Linked DNA regions of Homo sapiens: regions 1 and 2 are each linked to region 3. Evidence: promoter capture Hi-C in human tissues and cell types (Jung and others, 2019). All regions are on one chromosome and are shown on one strand. Each heading gives the region's core, a stretch centred on a gene start or on the middle of the fragment in contact. The rest is flanking DNA. Distances are from core to core; before and after follow the strand shown. Region 1 has its middle 12 kb from the start of ZNF644. Region 2 overlaps ZNF644 (zinc finger protein 644). Region 3 holds the start of BTBD8 (BTB domain containing 8).

What was found. Contacts are between HindIII fragments. The study calls those that stand out against the background at their distance.
Region 1: a contact is called between a fragment that was not itself captured here and the fragment with the promoter of BTBD8 in region 3, in 1 of the 25 tissues and cell types used here (hippocampus).
Region 2: a contact is called between a fragment that was not itself captured here and the fragment with the promoter of BTBD8 in region 3, in 1 of the 25 tissues and cell types used here (hippocampus).

The regions. Positions count from the first base shown.
Region 1 is chr1:91,032,003-91,036,100 of GRCh38, forward strand. No RefSeq gene overlaps it. Among named protein-coding and RNA genes, the nearest start is that of ZNF644, 12 kb to the left of the region's middle. The HindIII fragment of the contact is 3,018 bases long and covers 803-3,820 here.
Region 2 is chr1:91,012,464-91,016,676 of GRCh38, forward strand. All of the region lies in intron 1 of ZNF644 (zinc finger protein 644), which reads right to left. Among named protein-coding and RNA genes, the nearest start is that of ZNF644, 7.5 kb to the right of the region's middle. The HindIII fragment of the contact is 3,761 bases long and covers 11-3,771 here.
Region 3 is chr1:92,078,862-92,082,969 of GRCh38, forward strand. It overlaps BTBD8 (BTB domain containing 8), which reads left to right and starts at 1,484. Exons shown (of 18, transcript NM_001376131.1): 1 at 1,484-1,859. The coding sequence starts at 1,711. RefSeq lists an enhancer at 2,757-3,424. The HindIII fragment of the contact is 3,183 bases long and covers 1-2,373 here.

The DNA.
Region 1 (4,098 bases), core at 1,062-3,561, 1.0 Mb before region 3:
CAATTCATGAAAGAAAAAGTTGTTAAAATCAACTTCATTGAAATTTAGAATTTTTGCTCCTTAAAAGACTTAGAGAATGAAAGGACAACCCCAGACTACGAAAAAATATTTGCAAATTACACAACTGATAAGGGACTTGTATCCATAATATATAAAGAATTCTCAAAACACAATAAGTAAATAAATAACCTAATAAAAAATGGACAAACGAATGAACAGGCACTTCACCAAAAAAGATATAATGGTGTAAAAAAAAAAAGCACATGAAAAATACTCATTAGTCATTAGAGAAATGTAAATTAAAACTCCAAATGAGATATCATTACACATCTGAATGAGAATGGCTAAAAATAACAAGACCAACAATACCAAGTGTTGTCAAGGATATATAACAACTAGAACTCTATCACACTGCTTATGGGAATGTAAAATGGTACAACCACTTTAGGAAAAAGCTTGGTAGTTTCTTTAAAAGTTAAAAATACACACCCTATAATGAACATGATTCATCCCTTTTACTGCTAAGTAATTACTCAAGATAAAAGAAATACACATGCACACAAAGACTTGTACAAGAATTTTTATAGCAGCTTTATTGCTAACAGCCAAAAACTGGAAACAACATGAATGCCCATCAGTAGATTAATGTATAAAGCCAGCCTACCTAACAGAATAGTTGCTGTGTGATTATCTTTATATAAAACCCTAGAAAATGCAACTAATCTGCAGTGACAGACAACAAATCAGTGGTTGCCTGTTGTGGAGGAAGAAGAGGCAGGTGTGAGGGTAAGGGTTTTATATTAGGAAATGAGGAAATGTTTGGGGGTGGTATGTTTATTTTCTTGAATGTGGTGATGGATTCATTGGTGTAGATATATGTCAAAACTTATGAAATTGTACACTTTAAATATGTACTGTTTATTGTTACAATATACAATAGTTTGAATAAAATTCTTTAAAGTGTTTTTAAAGAGAGAGCATGGAAGGAGAGAGTTTCTTGTAGTGGTTGAATATGAAGGGTATTCAGAGTACACTTGGACAGAGACAGATAACACTCCTATTTGACATATTTCAACATGGGGTATCAGGCAGATGAAAGATTTCTTTGCTCAAATGCTGTCTATTTTGTTGGTAAGATTGGCAGCAAAGCTTTCTGCACAAATGACCTAAAATAGGTTGGCAGAAGTCTTGAAGAAGGTGGAGTAGGTTTGAAACAGCTGCTGGAGAACCCAGACCCAGAACTCTTGGCATTTGAATAGAGCTGGAGGTTCTGTTGATATTGGGGACCAAGAATCTATGGTAACACTACTTCCATATCATTATGTAATTTTCTATAGCACATGTCAATAGTACAGGCAAAGAGACACAGTCCTGTTTTTCCTCTGAACACATTTCATCTCCCAGAAGTTTCTTTAATCTCCCAGAAGTTTCTTTAATCTCTTGAGCACTCAGATTTCTATGGCATCTGCTCCACCACTTTGTCAGACATGCCAAGATATTTTTCATCCATTCATTCAACAGCTATCTATTGAGGCCCTTTAACTCAGCTGTGAGGCGTCAGGTGGTACTGAATATACAATAGTCCAAATATACATGATCCATGCTTTGAGGCTTACATGTCTGAATATGCAACGTACTCCCACAGGATCTAACACTGATCACTTGCAGACCTCAGAGGACTGTGCATTTCCCAAGCATAGGTCTCCCCGGGACTCATATCAGCCACACATCACTTGACCATTAATAATCAAGGTGGCCTCATTGCAAGTGCCCATTTTCAAGCTTGACCCATCTCAGGTTCCTCCTTTTTATTGTGGATATATATATACACACATATAATTTTTCTTTTCCAAGACAGAGTCTTGCTCTGTTGCCCAGGCTGGAGTGCAGTGGTGTGATCTTGGCTCACTGCAACCTCTGCCTCCCGAGTTCAAGCAATTCTCCTTACTCAGCCTCCCGAGTAGCTGGGACTGCAGCCACGTGCCACCACGCACGGCTAGTTTTTGTATTGTTGTAGAGACGGGGTTTCACCATTTTGGCCAGGCTGGTCTCGAACTCCTGACCTCATCAGCTGCCCATCTCAGCCTCCCAAAATGCTAGGATTACAGGCTTGAGCCACCGCACCCCGCCTACTGTGGATATTAAAAGTTGGGAGAGGTGTGTGGCCAACACTGAATTTGTAGGATCTATAACTAGAGACCTGAGGGCCCAAGGAAATGTTCACAGCTATCTAGTATGCTGTCAGATAACAGGTTTAGGTATTTTCTTTCTTTGAAATTCAATAAATTTTCACAATGACTTTTCATTAAAGATGAATGCTAAATTGCTATCTCACCCACAGTTTGGATAACAGATTATTAGAAAATCTGTACATATTAAGTAATGTATCACTGTTGCATCAAATGGAAGTGTATCTCTTTATCCTCTTTAAAGAGAGATATCAGATACATAATACTCAAATATCTGCAGTTGTGTGTTTACACACACACACACACACACCAGGCAGGGGAAGAGAGAATGTAAAGATAGTAATCACATTTGCTTTGAGGGGAGATAGAAAAGTAAAACTTTCTTTCTACCATTACATCAGTTTTGAGTATACTAGGAAATCCCATATGAAATTATAATTCTAGGATAGAATATTCTGTCTTTTAGGGCACCACCAGAAGAGAATACTAAACAGTAATAAAGAGGAAAAGATAGACATACACATGTTCTTTTCTCTTCTGCTGTTGTTAGCCTAAAAAAATTTAAAATGTGCACGAATGCATAAGGGATATTTATTTTAGTGAAAAGGCGAAAATACCAAATGCCTAAAGGTTGGGAATAGAAATTGATGAGTTTGGCAGTAGGCTTTGGAAATGAGCAGTGATAGCCAATCTGACTAATATGAAAAAAATGTTGCAAAGAAGCACTAGAAACAGAAAAAGCAACAACTTTTTGCATTGTGCATAAAAACGAAATGGTCTTGTAATAGCCCCGGTAGAAGTTTTCTTGTGACAACGAGACTTTCCTAAAAAGGAACAAAATGGAATAAGGAGCATCTGCCTGCAATATCCCTAAAGAGACAAAGTGTTAATCTCTCTATCCCTATAAAGATAGTGAATTTTTTTGTTTGTTTGAGGTGGAGTCTCTCTCTGTCACCCAGGCTGGAGTGCAGTAGTGCAATCTCAGCTCACTGCATCCTCCACCTCCTGTGTTCAAGCAACTCTTCTGCCTCCACCTCCCAAGTAGCTAGGATTACAAGCACCCACCATCAGGCCTGGCTAATTTTTGTATTTTTAGTAGAGACAAGGTTTCACCATGTTGGCCAAGCTTGTCTCGAACTCCTGGCCTCAAGTGGTCCACCCACCTTAGCCTCCCAAAGTGCTGGGATTACAGGTGTGAGCCACCACACCTGGCCAAAAATAGTGAATTTTTTTTTTTGAGACGGAGTTTCGCTCTGCTGTTGCCAGGATGGAGTGCAGTGGTGTGATCTCAGCTCACTGCAACCTCCACCTCCCGGGTTTAAGCGATTCTCCTGCCTCAGCCTCCCGAGTAGCTGGGACTACAGGCACGCACCACCACATCCAGCTAATTTTTGTATTTTTAGTAGAGACGGGGTTTCACCATGTTGGCCAGGATGGTCTGGATCTCTTGACCTCATGATCTGTCGGCCTTGGCCTCCCAAAGTGCTGGGATTAAAGGTGTGAGCCACCGCTCCTGGCCGTGACTTTTTAATAGGAAAAGAAATCGTGTGCCAGATACTTCCCTAAACGAGGTCAATGCACAGATTCTCTATATAGCCATCATAAGTAATCTGGCCAGAAATCCCAGGATAATCATCATCCCTAATTAAATGTAAAGCATACATGGAGCCAAATATCAGTATCGTGCCTGCAAGTATACTTGCCAGGATGAATAGTTGAAATAGTAACAGAAAATAAGAGCAGATTCATGAATCAGCCTCTTAAAAGTGAAGAAGGCGGCAGGGCACGGTGGCTCACGCCTGTAATCCCAGCACTTTGGGAGGCCGAGGCAGGCGGATCACGAGATCAGGAGATCCAGACCACGGTGAAACCCCGTCTCTACTAAAAATACGAAAAAAATTAGCCGTGC
Region 2 (4,213 bases), core at 641-3,140, 1.1 Mb before region 3:
TGAGACCCTGTCTCAAAAGAAAAAAAAAGGAAGGAAAAGAAAAAGAAACAAGCAAAAACTAATTTATGGTGATAGAGGTTAGAGGTTAAAATAGTGGTTACTTCTGTAGGGAGAAATTAATAGGAGGGAGCACAAGGCACCTTTAATCAGTGAAGAAAAATATTCTACATCTCTATCTGGGTATTTCATTTAAAATAGGCTCTAATCACGGAAAATGCTTGCATTCCACAATTCTCATGTCTGTGCTTTTTTTACATCCTCTTCTCCCCAGGTGTAACCCAGTACCTCCCACTACCTGGGAGTTACCTAGGTATACTTATATGTATAAATTCACTGAGTTGTACTTAAGATTTGTGCACTTCACTGTATGTTATACCTAAAAAAAATACTTAAAAACAAGTAACCAATTAATAGCTAAATCTAAAAACCTTTTCTCAATTCTCATCCTTCTTTATCAATCTCCATCATATTGTTAATCACAGAACATCAATATTCCCTAAATGAAACACTTTCCCTTTTGAAGATCGACTAGGCTTTGTTAGGATGTTTTTTCCAGCATTTTCTGTAGTGTCATATTAATTCTCTCTAAATATTAATTCAATATTTATCTTTTTTCTTTTGTTTTTTGGAGACTGAGTCTCACTCTGTCGCCCAGGTGGGGATGCAGTGGCATGATCTTGGCTTACTGCAACCTCCGCCTCTCATGTTTAAGCAATTCTCCCGCCTCAGCCTCCCAAGTAGGTGGCATTATAGGTGCACACCACCATGCCCAGCTAATTTTTGTATTTTCAGTAGAGACGGGATATTTCATCATATTGGCCAAGCTGGTCTCAAACTCCTGACCTCAGGCGATCTGCCGACCTCAGCCTCCCATAGTGCTGGGACTACAGGCATGAGCCAATGCACCCAGTTAATTCAGTATTTATCAAGTGCTCATGTATGAGACACGAATTAGGCACCCTCCAATATATATTTCCAATCTCTCTCTCACACACACACACACACACACACACACACACATACACACACACACACACATATACACACCCAAACCAAATTCCCTAAACTGGATTCAAGCCACTCTATTACCTGGTATCAAACTGTATTTGCTGTTTTAATTCCTATCACTTCTTTATGGGAATATTCTTCTCAAGCATTTTCTGTTCTCAGCTATCCTTTACGGTTCAGTTCAATTTCTATGTTATTCTTTCCCTATACCCCATAGGACTTACTATCTGTAATTGCACTGTCCAATACAGTAACTTCATGTGGCTACTGAATACCTGAACTCTGGCTAGTCTGAATTGAGATGTGCTTTAAGTATGTAATACTAACAGATTTTGAAGACTTAACATGGTTAAAAAAAGAAAAAATGTAAAATAGTTCAATCATGTTTATATGATGAAATAATAGTATTTAGATACTGGGTTAAATAAAAATCCATTAATAAAATTTCACCTATTTATTTTATTTTTTGATGTGGCTATAGAAAATCTAAAATTGCATTTGTGGCTCAACTTATATTTCTATTGGGCAGTGCTGACCTATACAATCTATTTATAAATGCCCACAAATTACCTTTTTCTTCTTCTTCTTCTTAAACTGATAAATACAAATTGTATATATTTATGGTGTACAACACATTTTGAAATACATATAAATTATGCAATGGTTAAATCTAGCTAATTAACACATGCATTACCTCACATAGTTATATTTTGTGGTGTGAACACTTAAAATGTACTCTCCTAGCAACTTTCAAGTATGCAATATTAACTATAGTTACTATGCCCCACAAATTATCTCTTAACATATAATGTCATCTTCCCGATGAGTGCCAGAATTCAACATTAAGCTTTTTTCTTTTATGAATTAAATATTATATTAGGAATTACTAATAGTAATTAAGTGCCATTTAATTTTAATATCCCTTTAAGATTTTTAACAAGGAAGTGTAAGGCATTTCAAAGTGTTCAAATATTAAAAAAAAGTTGTTTTCAGATAGCTATAAATTATACAATTTTTCATCTATATTTTACTTATATACAATTCTAAGTCAAATGTCCCACCAGCAAGGATAGATAGCATGATTAAACCTGTAGCAATCCAAATCCCATAAAGTATTAGTTCTGATTAAGCCTGATTTTTTTCATCTTAGTCACTCAGTAAAGGGCAGCATCCATTTTGGTCAACATCATTGTACCAATGTCCAGCAGCCAAGACAAAGAGCCTTTATATGGTGGTATGAATAGACAATGAGAGCAATACGACACCACTTGAAATAAGGGGGGGGAGAAAAATGTTTTTATAATGCTAAGTTTTAAAACTAGGAGATGAAACTTACAAATTGTGTAACAACTAGGTAAAAGGATATATATGTAAGAAGAACAGGAAGGTAGAACAGAAAGGTCTCCTCTCTAGACCTTCTCAAGATATACCTAGGTTCAAACTTGGCTACTCCATTATTAAGTGGATGTGTTTCCTCACATGTAAAGTGGGAATATATACATCACAGGATTATTAAAAGAATATAGTAGATGCTTAATTAACGTCATCTGTCTTTAATACTAATAATTATATAATGGTAATAAGATTATGGGTGACTTCCCCTCCCTCACTTTCCAAATTGCTGTATTTTTCAAGCATAAATGAAAAACTTACAATTTCATACTAGTACCCCTCCTCAAATGAACCTAAAATTATTTTTACTAGCTGTCTTTGACAAATTTGCTTATAAGCTTAAAATCCGTGTTTGTGCTAGGAGGAGGTTGGTGGTAGAAAGAAAATTAAAGAGGGGGAACTGATAACTTTAACACCATACCAGCACAGACATATACAAAACAAAGTGTGGAGAGGAAAAGAGCAAAAGGAAATGCTGTTTGGGAAATTCCCAACTCAGACTATCCAATGAAAAGATTATATTCCACCCGCCTCAATCTAGCTACCTACCAGCCACTCCTCACTCTCATCTTGGGTTTATACGTACATTACAAATACGCATAGCCACTCACCTTCTTCTCTCTACTAATAGTCACCACATGGCCTCACAGTCAAAAATTGAAAGGAGAGTGAAGAAATTCAGCATGTTATAACAAAGACAAACCAATGCACTGGCTGGGAAATAACTTCATTAAAATGTACTCATTCCCAAGTGTATCTACTCATCTGCTGACAGTGCTGGGAATGCATTCCTGAAATATTTAACCTGGTTATAAGATTCTGCTGCTAGAATCAGAGAAGGCACACTTTGATGCCTACCTCTCACTTCCTCTATAACAACCTTGTCTTTATCGGCATGGCTTAAAATGGGACATTAGCAAAAGTATACAACTGCAAATCACTCACAGGTGAAAATCTCAAGTTAATGTAGAAAGAATAATTAAACAATGGTAATAATAACTATTATTACTCTAACAGGTAACACTTACTTTACTCAGCATTGTATGCCAGAAAGCTAAGGACTTTACATGAATTATGTAATATCAACCCTAAACCTCTTTGAAGATGGTAATTACTAATTCCACTTGCCTAGTGCTCACACAGCTAAATCTGAACCCTGTCAATTTTACTTCAAGGCTTACACTTTCAAACTTTATCATATCCTGCCTCTTTATATATGCATAATTACAATTGCAATTGTGATTCTATGTGTGTGTGTGTCTGTGTGTAAAGTATTTAGTGAGTCAGTAGCAAACAAAAGGCAATTAATTCCAACTCTGTGAAGCCTTTTACCCACCTTCACAAACCAACAATAAATTGGGAATTACCCCTCTCCTCCCCAATAAATGGTGCTCTGAAAGTACTAGTTTTACAGTCATACATCACTTAAGCATGGATGTACATTCTGAGAGATGCATTCTTAGGCAATTTGGTCACTGTGCAAACATCACAAAGTGTACTCAAACAAACCTAGATGGTAGAGCCTACTTACACACCTAGGCTACTTGGTATAGCCTATTGTTCCTAGGCTACAACATGCTCCTGTAAAGCATGTTATTGTACTGAATACCACACACAACTGTAACATAACTGTTTAGTATTTGTGTATCTAAACATAGAACATAAAATACAGTAAAAATACAGTATTACAATCTTATGGGACCACCATCGTAAATGCAGTCCACTATTGACCAAAGAACATCATTATGCTGCACATGACTGTATTTAATATCTTCCTCAAGAAACTAATGAAAGAGATACTTTTAAGTAAAAT
Region 3 (4,108 bases), core at 234-2,733:
ACCATTATTATGGTGTAACACACCATATATTATAGTGTGATATATGACATTGTGTGACCTTGGCCAAGTTTACCTATCCTTTGTATGCCTCAGCTTCCTCATCTGTAAATAGGTCTGAAGACAGTACCTAGCTAAATGGTTGTTGTAAGGATTAACTGAGTTAAAACACACAGAGCAAATAGAGTAGCGTTTATCACATAATAAGGATTCAAATATAAGCTACTATTATGTTATCTTTGACACCCCTCGTTTCTACAGGAATAATTAAGAATCAATTATCCATCCAAGCATTTGGGAATTAATTTTAAAAAATCAATTATCCAGTTATATTTTTCAGAATTAAGATGTCTGAATATTTGAGAGGGGGCATTATCTGAAGAAATGGTTACCTCTTGGCCAATCTTATGGTACAAATACAAAGTCCATATATTCCCCTCCCCGCCTCCTTTTTTTTTTTTTTTGTTTGGTAGAGACAGGGTCTCCTTATGTTGCCCAGGCTGGTCTCTAATTCCTGGGCTCAAGTGATCCTCCCGCCTTGGCTTCCCAAAGTGCTGGGATTACAGGTGTGAGCCACCGCAACCTGGCCAATGTATTTTCCAAGCAATTACTATTCTTCACCTTGTGTGTAGAGTTTGTGAATGAAACAGATTTTTTTTTTTTTTTTTTTTTTTGAGACAGGGTCTTGCTGTGCTGTTCAGGCTGGAGTGCAGTGGTGCAATCATGGCTCACTGCAGCCTCGACCTCCCGGGCTCAAGCCATCATTCCGCCTCGCTTCCCAAGTAGATGGGACTTGCCCGGCCCGAAGCGGAACTACTGAGTTTCCTTATTTTGGAGGCAGTAATCAAATAAAAAATACCAAAACCTTAAATGATAATCAGTTTGCTACTTTATTTGGGACAAAAGAGAATTCTATATTTCATCCATCCATCACTTCACTGCTCAAAGACTTTGCCCCTTACCTATTTCTCCCTTCTTGGTCATAAATGTTAGGGCTTTATATGCAAAGCCCTGTGCTTTCTCCGATCAAGTCCAAAAGCTTGTATGAGCCACTCCTTGGATAAGAAGGGGATGGGGCCTTCTAGATGCTGTAAGTATCTCTTATATTGAACTCAGAATTGTTCTGACTGGCAGTTTATGAAGTTCTTCCCCTACTCCTCCCATCGCCAATTTTTCTTGCCCCAAACATTTATACCTCAGGGTTAAGAAGCCAGGTAAGTGAGGGGGTGTGACTCGCCCAGTCTTTCGTTGGAAAAAAGTGTAGACCTGTCAGGAAGACACAGCATAGAAAGGCTGCATGTGCTGATTTGAACTCGAGCCTCAGTAAAACATTGAAATGAATGAACACCAACCGGAAGGGAAAGAAGAGGGGAGGGGATAAGGAGCCTGAGGATTGGTTTGCCCCGCGGGATGGTCCGCGCCTGAGCCATGGGAGGCGGGGTGCCCGCCGGCAGAAGTAAACAGAGCGAGTACGCCTGCGCACGCTCTTCCTGGGTCAAGAGCCGGCTCGGTTCTGGGATTCTGAGGCTCCCCACCGCGGTCCGGCTTCTCTGGGAGACTGTCTACAAACCGACGAGAGGCGTCAACCTTTTACCCTAGGGGGCGGATTTGGGTAGGAGCCGAGCGTTCGGTCGGAAACGCCCCCTTCTTCCTCCTGGGCGGGGCAAGTGAGGCCAAGTACTGGGCCTCCAGGGCGTCGTACCTCTGTGAGACATGGCTCGCTGTGGGGAAGGCAGTGCGGCCCCCATGGTACTTCTGGGGTCCGCTGGAGTTTGCAGTAAGGGGTTGCAAAGGAAGGGGCCGTGTGAGCGGCGCCGGCTGAAGGCGACGGTGTCGGAGCAGCTCAGCCAGGATTTGCTCAGGTAGGAGGAGGCGGGAACTCTGGCTGCTTCAGTTCCTAAATCGCCCACCTCCGCCCCGAAGCTGAGGCTTCTTTCGGCTCTGCCTCCCCCTCCCTCAGCACTTGGTTCTCCTCGCCTCAGGCGACTGCGGGTCGTTAGCCAGTCTCCCCACTATTCCGAAAAGTGGCTTCGCTCGCCCTGAATAAACAATCCCGAGCACCTCGACACCATGTACCAGATTCAAAAGGAAAACAAAAAAAGCTTAGTCGTGTGCAGCACTAGTTTGCTAGAAATATCTCAACACAGGCACGCTTAGTTGTTTCCAATCACTAAGGTCGGGTGGATCCAGGTCCTGAAACTTACACAATTTTTAAAATAAGCTTATACTATTTTAAGAAAAATAATAAAATTAGGAAAACGATTATTTGAAATGAGGAAAGAACAATACTATAGTCTTGGAGGTCTCTTCTGAGGTCTCTTTAAACAATTTACCAGAAATGCTTCCTGATTGCGACCTGGATTCCTCTCTCCACCTAGAGCTCTCTGTAGCTCCCAGCAACTCTCAGCTCCTGTGAGGACCAAAGCAAATGGAGGGTCTTCCTGACATTTAACCTTTGTAAGCCTCATGGATATCCTTCTCGGGTTATTGGGAATCCAGCTAAAGTAATTTCAGCTTACAAAGAAATTGAAGCTTAGAAATATGACCTAGCTAATTTACATTTCCAGCAAGACATTGATTCTTAAACTTGGGTGGGCATCACTGAAATTTTCCATTTCTAACAAGGCCCCAAGTGATGCTAATGCTGCTGGCTAGGGTGACTATGAGAACCACTGAGGTAAACATAATTACTAATAATTAAAAGTTGTGCAGCATTCTACTTTTTTTTTTTTGGAGACGGAGTCTCGCTCTGTCGCCCAGGCTGGAGCGCCGTGGCGCGATCTCGGCTCACTGCAACCTCCACCTCCCGGGTTCAAGCCATTCTCCTGCCTCAACCTCCCGAGTAGCTGGGATTACAGGCACGCGCCACCACGCCCGGCTAATTTTTGTATTTTTAGTAGAGACGGGATTTCATCATGTTGGCCAGGCTAGTCACGAACTCGTGACCACAAGTGATCCGCCCGCCTCGGCCTCCCAAAATGCTGGGATTACAGGCGTGAGCCACTGCGCCCAGCCAGGATTCTACATTTTGAAGTGCTTTCTGTCAAAAACTCACCCATACTTAAGGCTCCGATAGCTATAAACAGAATTTATCAAAGTAAAAAAAAAATCCCTTTAATTTGGGACTATCTACTGGGGAAGCTACTTTGTCTCTACCAGGGAGGGACTGATGAAAAAGATGGAAAAAATAATACTAAAGTTGTTAACGTTTCTAGGGTAACACATCTAATTTATATGAAGAAAATGAGGTTAAAGTATTGCTAGTGAACAATTTATCCTTATCTTAGTTACAACTGAGGGTAGGACTCAGAACTCTCAAATTCTTATTATAAACAAAGAAAAATAGATGTAGCAAGGTTTTTTTTTAAAACAAAACAAAACAAAATGCTCACCCAACCACCTTAAATGCTATACTAAATTAATTTTCTCCAAGCATAGCAATGTCATTTATTTATTCTACAAATACTAATGAAGTATCTAGCACTGACCACGTACCTAGCCCGGTACTAGGTCTTAAGTAATAAACGTTAATAAAACATTGCTTTGTTGTTTGTCCTTACACTCTAGTGAGAGAGGAAATGGCTAAATAAAAGTGATAGTTGTGGTGGGGTGAGTTGGGAAGACTTTATAGGGTGACATTTGAGTGAGCTCTTAGGGATTGGTTAAGAATTGATTAGGTAAAGATTGGGAAGGGAGAGGTAGAGGATATCTAAACAAGGGGAATAACTTTTATGGAAGCACAGAAATTTGAAAGAGCTTGATTGATTTTGAGAAAGCAAGTCGTATTAGACTCTGCCAAATAGTAAGGAACAGAGACACTCCTAGGTTACCTGACGTGACAAGATATGTAGAGAAGTGAGGAAAAGTGGGAGACAGTTTTAGCTGTCAAAAAGCCAGCTCCAATGTAGAACTGGAAAGTTGTTTGGGATATGGTAACAGTCATACAATAAGACCACATTGACAAATGGACTGTTATTCAGGGCAGTGGTAAAAAAAAAACACTAATACTTATTGCCATCCTACTATTTGCTATACACTGGGCTTACATGAAATGTTTTACTTACTTCTCTCATGAATCCTGTGAGGTAAGTCTTGTTATTCTCATTTAACA